2 separate regions of the Homo sapiens genome follow, and region 2 is linked to region 1. The links are contacts of gene promoters, found by promoter capture Hi-C in human tissues and cell types (Jung and others, 2019). All regions are on one chromosome and are shown on one strand. Each heading gives the region's core, a stretch centred on a gene start or on the middle of the fragment in contact. The rest is flanking DNA. Distances are from core to core; before and after follow the strand shown.

Region 1 (3,800 bases), core at 808-3,307:
CCTTTTACTACACTCATCTGAAAAGAAATGAGAAGTCTGGGCATGCCAGAGGCAAGAGGAACCAGCTCACCACTTCTCAAGCCAGAATGGAAAAGATGGCAGAAGCATAGTTGTACAAGGACCCCAGCATCAGTCAGACAGAAGGAAACCTATAATATTATGCAATGAGAGACCCTGAGGATGTTCTTCAGACAAACCCCAGCAGGACCAATCCAACTCCAAGCTTGAGCGTCCACTCCAAGCTTGAAGATTAAACAATAAGAAAAAATTCGGGTCCACAGGTGAAATACACACTTTCTAAGCACAATGAGCAACTTTATAGTAGATAGCTGGACAACCAAGTACACTAACTGCAAGCATAAGAACAGTATTCATGTTGTAAATCGAGTACCAACTACTATTAGTTTTTTGTTGTTTTGCTTTTTGCAATATTTCTTCTCATATTTTATTTTAAATCTAAGCTAATTTCTTTATAAGAACAGGCTAAGGCTTATTTTCTGTGGCTGATCCAGCCTTACAAGAAAAAAGATTTCACTGTGTCCCTCAGAAACCTACTCCTGTCTACATCACACTGTCGAGCTCTCTCTTTATACCCCATGTGACAGATAAGAAAACAGAAGTCCAGAGAGAGCAAGTGACTCATCCAAGGTCAAACTTCTTGCTAACACATCTAGGACGAGAATAAGGGCTCAAGAAGCCCACTATGGGTCTCTTGCCGTATCACTGCTGCAAATGACCAGGCATACTGGTGTCTTGAATACAAAGTTTATTTGTAAAGGGGAAAAAAAAAAAGCCAACATGAGTCATCTGCATTGTCAACGGGCTCCACACAGGTTGTTCTAATAAAGCATCCAGCACCTCCAGAACCACTTGTTTCTGAAAGCACCAACCTACGCAGACACTAGCAGGCCATGTCTTCCACCCTTGCCACCCTCGAGGCTGTGAGCAGATGCGCTGTTGGGCTCTGGGGATCTAGAGGTGTCACTTAAAGAGCAAGGGAGCCTGGAGCTTGGCAGTACTGACTGGATGAGTGGATGGGTGGGTGTATGAGGACATGGGAGTGTTTTCTGACAGCTCCCGGAGATAGTTATGATATCATGCAGCCTAATCCCACTCATCTTGGAACACCCCAAACATCTCATCCGCTCAGCTGTCCCTCCTCAACTTCCTCAGGGCAAAAGCACTGCAGTCTGAGGTGAATCTGGCCGCTGGGGAGGGGCGGTAGTCGGCCCCAGCAGCAGAGGAAGCAACGCTCAGCTCCCTCCTCCACCCACCCCGTACAGGAACTCCCCACTGGGTCTTCAGATGCCAGAGGCGTACCCAGCTCGGAGCCTGCCCCGGGTCTCAGGGTCGGTCCCGAAAGAACGGGGGAGGAGGAAGGCTCTATCCCGCCCCCGCCTCACCTCTACTCCCCGACCCCCAGGCGCCGACCCTTCTCACCCGCAAGGTCCGCCGCCGGACTCTTGTCCACTCCCAGAGACCCTGAGCGCACCCCTTTCTCGGCGTCCTCAAAGGACCCGCGTTTCCCACCTTCCCATACGGGGCCCTCCCGGCCGCCCCGGCCCAAGCCCTTTGCACTGCGTCCCCCGGCCCCTGAGTCCGCCCCGCACCCGCACTTCCCGCCCGGCCCCGCGGGCTCGCGGTCCGCCCCAACTTTTCCCAGCCCCCGCCCCGCAGCAACCGGGATGCAGCGTCTCGAGCCGCGACGGGCAGGCGAGCTCGAGTCCCTCGGGCCCCCAACCCCGCCCGCACGAGTTGCGCTCGGGACCCGCCGGGCGCCCAGGCCTGGGTCAGCAGCACTGCGCGGAGGCGGAGCCGGCGTGGCGGGAACCGTACTGTCCCGGCGCCGCACCCCCGCCCGGTGCCCGGTGCCCCGTGCCCCGCGCCCGCCCGCCGGCTCGCCCGCCCCGCCGCCGCCGCCGCCGCGCCGCTCCCAGCCCACCTGCCCGCGGGCGCCGCCGCCGCCGCCGCCACCACTGCCGGGAATACGTGGCAGTGGCCGCCGCCGCTTGCGCTCCCCGCCTCGCCTCTCCTCTCGGCGCCCGCGCGGGCGACTCTGGCGCGCCAGACCGCAGCGCCAGGCGCCCTCTGCCGCCGGGAAGCCGAATCCTCCCGTCCTAACCCTAACTCGCTGGCTGCCCCCGCCCGGGCCTCGGCTCCCGCCCCCTCTTCCCCGTTCCCGGCTCAGACTGTCGCTTCCGAGCGACCTGGGTTCTCGCCCGGCCTGCTGCTGCCGCTGCCTCCAGGAAGTTCGCCCTGACCACCTCTGCAGGCTCAGCGCGCTTCCTCCGGCTCCCGCGCAGCGGGTGCTTAAGTCACCCCCTTGTTGATATATTTCCTGCTTCTTTGAACGCCTCGCCCGTGAGATAGCAGAATCGGAAAGGGGATAGTTGGAGGCAAACGCCATGTCTGTTGTGTTCACCATTCTCTCCTCCAGGGCAAGGTTAGCGCCCTGTCTGGAATACTGAAGTGCGCAATAAATACTTGTGAAGAGAGCAAACGAGTAGATGAATGAGTTGAGACTTTTACCGCTGTCTACCCAAGTAGGCTTTGAAACCTCAAGCGGACAGAGATCCTGACCTGGATTTGTTTTTTGTAACTTACACGTGCATATGTGTGCGCAGCTCAGCATAAATAAATGAGATTCACAATTCCCCACCTCGGACCAGCGCCAAATCCGCAAGAGGCCCACGGCTAAATGTTATTCAGGGCTTTTGGTCAAACACGTTTAGGTTTGAGATCTACCTCTTAAAAGCTGGGCAATCGCGGGAAAGCTCATCTCCCTGGCCCACAGTGAACACGTCTATAAATTAAGAATAATAAAACCTACTTCACAGAGTTGTGAGAATTAATTGAGATGGTGCACTATAAAGTTCTTTACGCAGCCCCGATGTGTGCGGTGGTATGTAAATGGTAGTTATTGTTGTATTACTACTGATGCAGTAGGTGATTTTAAAAACTATCTTCGAAATGTAAAATATTGACTACCTTTTCACCTTAAAACCTTTATATGTGTGGTATTGTCACCTGCTCAGCAAGGCCAGCCCGGGGAGCAAGGCCACTCCTGTAACCTCTTCCCCTCCACCGGTAAAAATATAACAAGTCTTGGGGTTTTTTTGTTCTGTTTTGAAGAATTGTGGAACCCACTCTTCTGCAGGTTTTCCACCTGGATTTCTGTGGCCAATCTCTTAATTAACAAGTTTTTATTTTAGGGATGTCAAAGACAGGGAGCCCTTTGAAAGCACCTGCAGTCTACTGGCTCTTCCTGTTTTCTTCCTGACCCTCTCTCAAACAACTTAAGGCTTTTTTTTTCATTTTTACAGGAAGTGTCCTTCCTGCTGCGTACAAAAGGCAGCAATGCAGTAGAGTGGGATCAGAGGGGATTGGGCTGCATACACCTTGGGCTTTCTGCACCTCAGTCCCCTCAACGGTAAACTGTGGAGAATAAGACCTTGTCACATTGGGAGATCATTCATGATCCGGTCTGTGAAGGAAATAAGGAAATACCTGAAACACAAAGATATTTAATAAAAGGCAACTATTGATCAGTTTATTTAGCATGTATTTAAGGAGCATCTTTTTAGTGTTCTATGCGCTGAAAGAATGAGGGGAACACGCGTGTGTGAGGTAAGTTTCCTACCTTCAAAGGAGTTTGAGCTGTAGCTCCACACTAGGGCAGAGGGATTGGGAGCATATGGGATGCAGCTAAATATGAAATTAGCAAGCCTCAAGGTTTAAATTGGGGCAGTGGTACTGCCGTGTGAATTGCTTTAATTCATTATCATTGTAAATGCCATTTT
Region 2 (3,800 bases), core at 902-3,401, 180 kb before region 1:
ACAAACTCACTTCAAATATAACTATATAGGCAAGTTGAAACTAAAAAGATGGAGAAATATACCATGCAAATATTAATAGAAAGCAGAAGTGGTGCCAAGATAATTCAATAAAGAAAGATTAGTCTCTTCTACAAATGGTGCAATGACAAGAGGATATCCACATGCAAAGGAACTAAGTTGGAGCCCTACCTTAAACCACAGACAAAAATTAACTCAAAATGGATCAAAGATCCAAATGTAAAACCTAAATCTAAAAAGCTCTTAGAAGAAAACATAGGAGTAAATCTTCATGACCTTGGATTAGGCAATGGTTTCTTAGATATGGCATCAAAAGGACAAGCAACAAAAAATTAGACAAATTTGATGTCATTAAAATTTTAAAACTTTTGTGCTTCAAAGGACACCATCAGGAAAGTGAAAAGACCCCCAGCAATGGGGAGAAAATATTTGTAAACCATATATTTGATAAGGGACTAGTATCTAGAATATATGAATAACTTACTAATTAATAATAAAAAGACAGATGACCAAATTTTAAAATGGATAAATATTTGAATAGATATTTCTCCAAAGCAGATATATGAATGGCCAATAAGCACATAAAAAATGCTTAACATCATTAGTCATTAGGGATATGGAAACCAAAACCACAATATCCATTCACATCCACTAGGATGGTTATAATAAAAAAGAAAATAACAAGTGTTGGAGAGGATATGGAGACATTGTAACCCAATGTATTGTGAATGGGAATGGAAAATGGTACAGCCATTTTGGAAGACAATTTTTCTGTTCATCAAAAAGTTATTAAAGTTACTATAAGATCCAACAATTCCACTCCTAGGTATATACCCAAGAGAAAGTAAAACATGTATCTACACAAAAACTTCTATGTAACTGTTCACAGTAGCATTATTTATAATATCTCAAAGTGGAAACAACCCACATTTCTATCAGTTGATGAATGGATAAACAAAATGTAGTGTATTTATGCAATGGAATATTATTCAGGTGAATTTTATAGTAGGTGAATTATATCTCAATTTAAAATTATGAGGAAAAAAGCAGAAGTGGCTACTTTAATTAATCTGATAAAGTAGACACCATTGTTCATAGCATTATTTACAGTAGACAAAAACTGGAAAAAATCAAAATGTCTCAATATATGAATGGTTAAACAAACTGATACATTTATACCATGGAATACTATTCAGCACTAAAAAGGAATTCATGCATGGCTTTCACATTAAGCTGAGTGAAAAAAATACAATCCCAAAAGGTAATGTGCTGTATGATTTCTTTTTATAACATTCTCAAAATTATAGAGATGGAAAACAAATTAGTGGTTTTCAGGGATTAGGGGTTGGGGGATGAGGGGACTAAGTGTGATTCTAAAGGGATAGCATGAAGGAGATCTTTGTGGTGACAGAATAGTCTATATCTAGATTGTGGTTGTGGTCAGATAAATCTATATATGTGATAAAATGGCATAGAACTATATACATATATTGGTCCAATTTCAATTTCCTGGGTTTGATGTACTGTGGTTCAATAAGATGTAAATATTGGGGGAAACTGGGTGAAGAGAACCTGGGACCTCAGTAATAACTTTGGAACTTCCTGTAAACCTATAATTATTTTAAAATAAAATGTGTAAACAAGACACATTTGAAAACAGATACATGAGTATAGAAATTTCCTCACAAATGTTCATAAACTATGCTACTTTGAATCTATTATTTGAAGGTAGAACAGGAAATGGAAAAAATAATACAATGTTATAAAAAGAATTATCATTAAGAAAAATATTAGATCAATTTTGATATTAAAATTTATTTAAACGTATCCACATGAATAAGTGGCTTATGTTACTTATGTCTTTTAAATTAATACATATTCTGTTTTCTTAAGTAAGGTATAAGCTAGTTATTTTGTAGATTTACTGGATTTAAAATTGTAAACACAAGACGGCACTAACTAAAAGTAAGAAAAAAACTTGTTTTTTAAAAAAATTGTGAGCTTTGCTGCATATGATTAAAACAAAATTGAACAAGCCATTTATCAAGTGAATAATTGTTTAACTGTGCAGTTAATGAATCTCGAGTTTACATGAAAGCTGAATTGTGTTCAGCTTCAATAATTTAGTTTTAATAACTGGTTCTGTCTTCACTAATTGAAACATTTAAGCTTTACTGCACTTTCTAATCATGACAAATTTTCAAAGAGGTACACAGGAAAAGAGATATAGTGAAATCAGGTTAGAAATAATTGGTAATAGTAAAATGTTAACATTTTCTGTGATTTACAGTTTTCCAAACTAACAAATAACTTTGAAAAACTGAGATTACATCAGATGAAACAAAACAAAGTTCCACGAAAAGAATTACCACACCTTAAAGAAGAAATACCCTTTGAACTGAGCAATTTGAACCAGAAATTAGAGGTGAGATATATTATCTTAGTTTCTTCATGTGTATTAAAGATTGATTCCTATTGTTGTGGGCTATTTGTCTCTAGTGTCCACAATGGTGTCTTCAGTTGTGGTAATAAACACTATTACAAACTAACTTCTCACTGAATATATTTTCTTAGTGCACCTTCCCCTCAGGCACTTAGTGAATTAAAACATCACTTTGATGTATACATCTTTTGCATATATCAGCATTTTGGGAGATTAAAAAAAAAAGAGCCAAAAAAGTCAAAAGAAACTGCAGCTGTTGAGTAAAATTGAAGGACACCCCTGGGGTCAGTTAAAGTGAATATCTAATAAATCTTTTAATGGCCATTTAGCTATTAGGTAGTTAAATCCCAATGAAGCCTCATCACAGTTTTTAAAACAGGGCTTGAAGTTTCATGGTTTTTTTTCTTTAAAGGCATAATGTCACTCCAATTCAATTGCCCCAAAGCATTCAGAATTTCTAAAATTTTGGTCTCTAAAAAAAATTCACTATGTCCTCATAACTATATATATCTACTATGTACCCACAAAAATTAAAAACAAAAAACTTTAAAAATACACTGTGTCGTTGATGCACTTATTCTTATCTTCTTCGTTTTCCAACCTTGGAAAAAACAAACCAGCTATTTTTCTTCCCTGTGTTCTTGAGCATTCCTCCTACAAGTCATGGAACAGCAGAAAGATTACACTATAAATTCCTATCATCTACTTTTACCTGGATTCTCAGTACTGCCCAATTATTATTTTTTAATTGACTTCAAGTTGACCCTTATGTTATCCCACTTAATTTCTTTCATTTTTCTCAAGCCCTAAACCCCAGCATCCCTCCCCTTGCCAGCACTTTTTCATCTTTAATTAAAAAGTCCTTCTACTTTAAAATATCTTAAAGAGCAGAAAAAAATTAAATCCGGGATCACAGCCCTAAAATCGGCTTATTATAAGATCTTTGTAGGAAGTCCTAGATTTTAATCTTTAAAAGTCCAGCACATTTTACATGCTTCTGAATAATACATAGTTTTTTAAAAAAACAAACTTACCATCACTAAGTAAGTTGGCCCTCTAGGAAAATGCACTGTGTTGTACTCCCAGGCTCTTGCAGTGGTACAACCAGACGGGCTTCAGAAATATCCTGACCTCATGGAAGATGCCGATAGATGTGCACTGTAATATACATGTGCTTTCACTGAAAATGAAGAGATTGAGTCACTAATATTCCATTCGACTGACTTTTCATGGGCTTTTGTGGGAGAACTACATTAATAAAAATTTTTCAGACAAAAAAAGCCTTAAGTTAGTATCAAGTACTTTGTGTATGCACATTTTACATTTAGGAAACTAAATA

Evidence for each region. Contacts are between HindIII fragments. The study calls those that stand out against the background at their distance.
Region 2: a fragment that was not itself captured here is called in contact with the fragment with the promoter of SMCO4 in region 1 in 1 of the 25 tissues and cell types used here (H1 embryonic stem cells).

Annotation. Positions count from the first base shown.
Region 1 is chr11:93,541,334-93,545,133 of GRCh38, forward strand. SMCO4 (single-pass membrane protein with coiled-coil domains 4) reads right to left here and starts at 2,058. Exons shown (of 3, transcript NM_020179.3): 1 at 1,943-2,058. RefSeq lists silencers at 1,549-1,788, 1,919-1,968, 2,129-2,258. The HindIII fragment of the contact is 9,629 bases long and covers 1-3,800 here.
Region 2 is chr11:93,361,852-93,365,651 of GRCh38, forward strand. It overlaps DEUP1 (deuterosome assembly protein 1), which reads left to right. Exons shown (of 14, transcript NM_181645.4): 5 at 2,309-2,443. Among named protein-coding and RNA genes, the nearest start is that of DEUP1, 33 kb to the left of the region's middle. The HindIII fragment of the contact is 3,388 bases long and covers 458-3,800 here.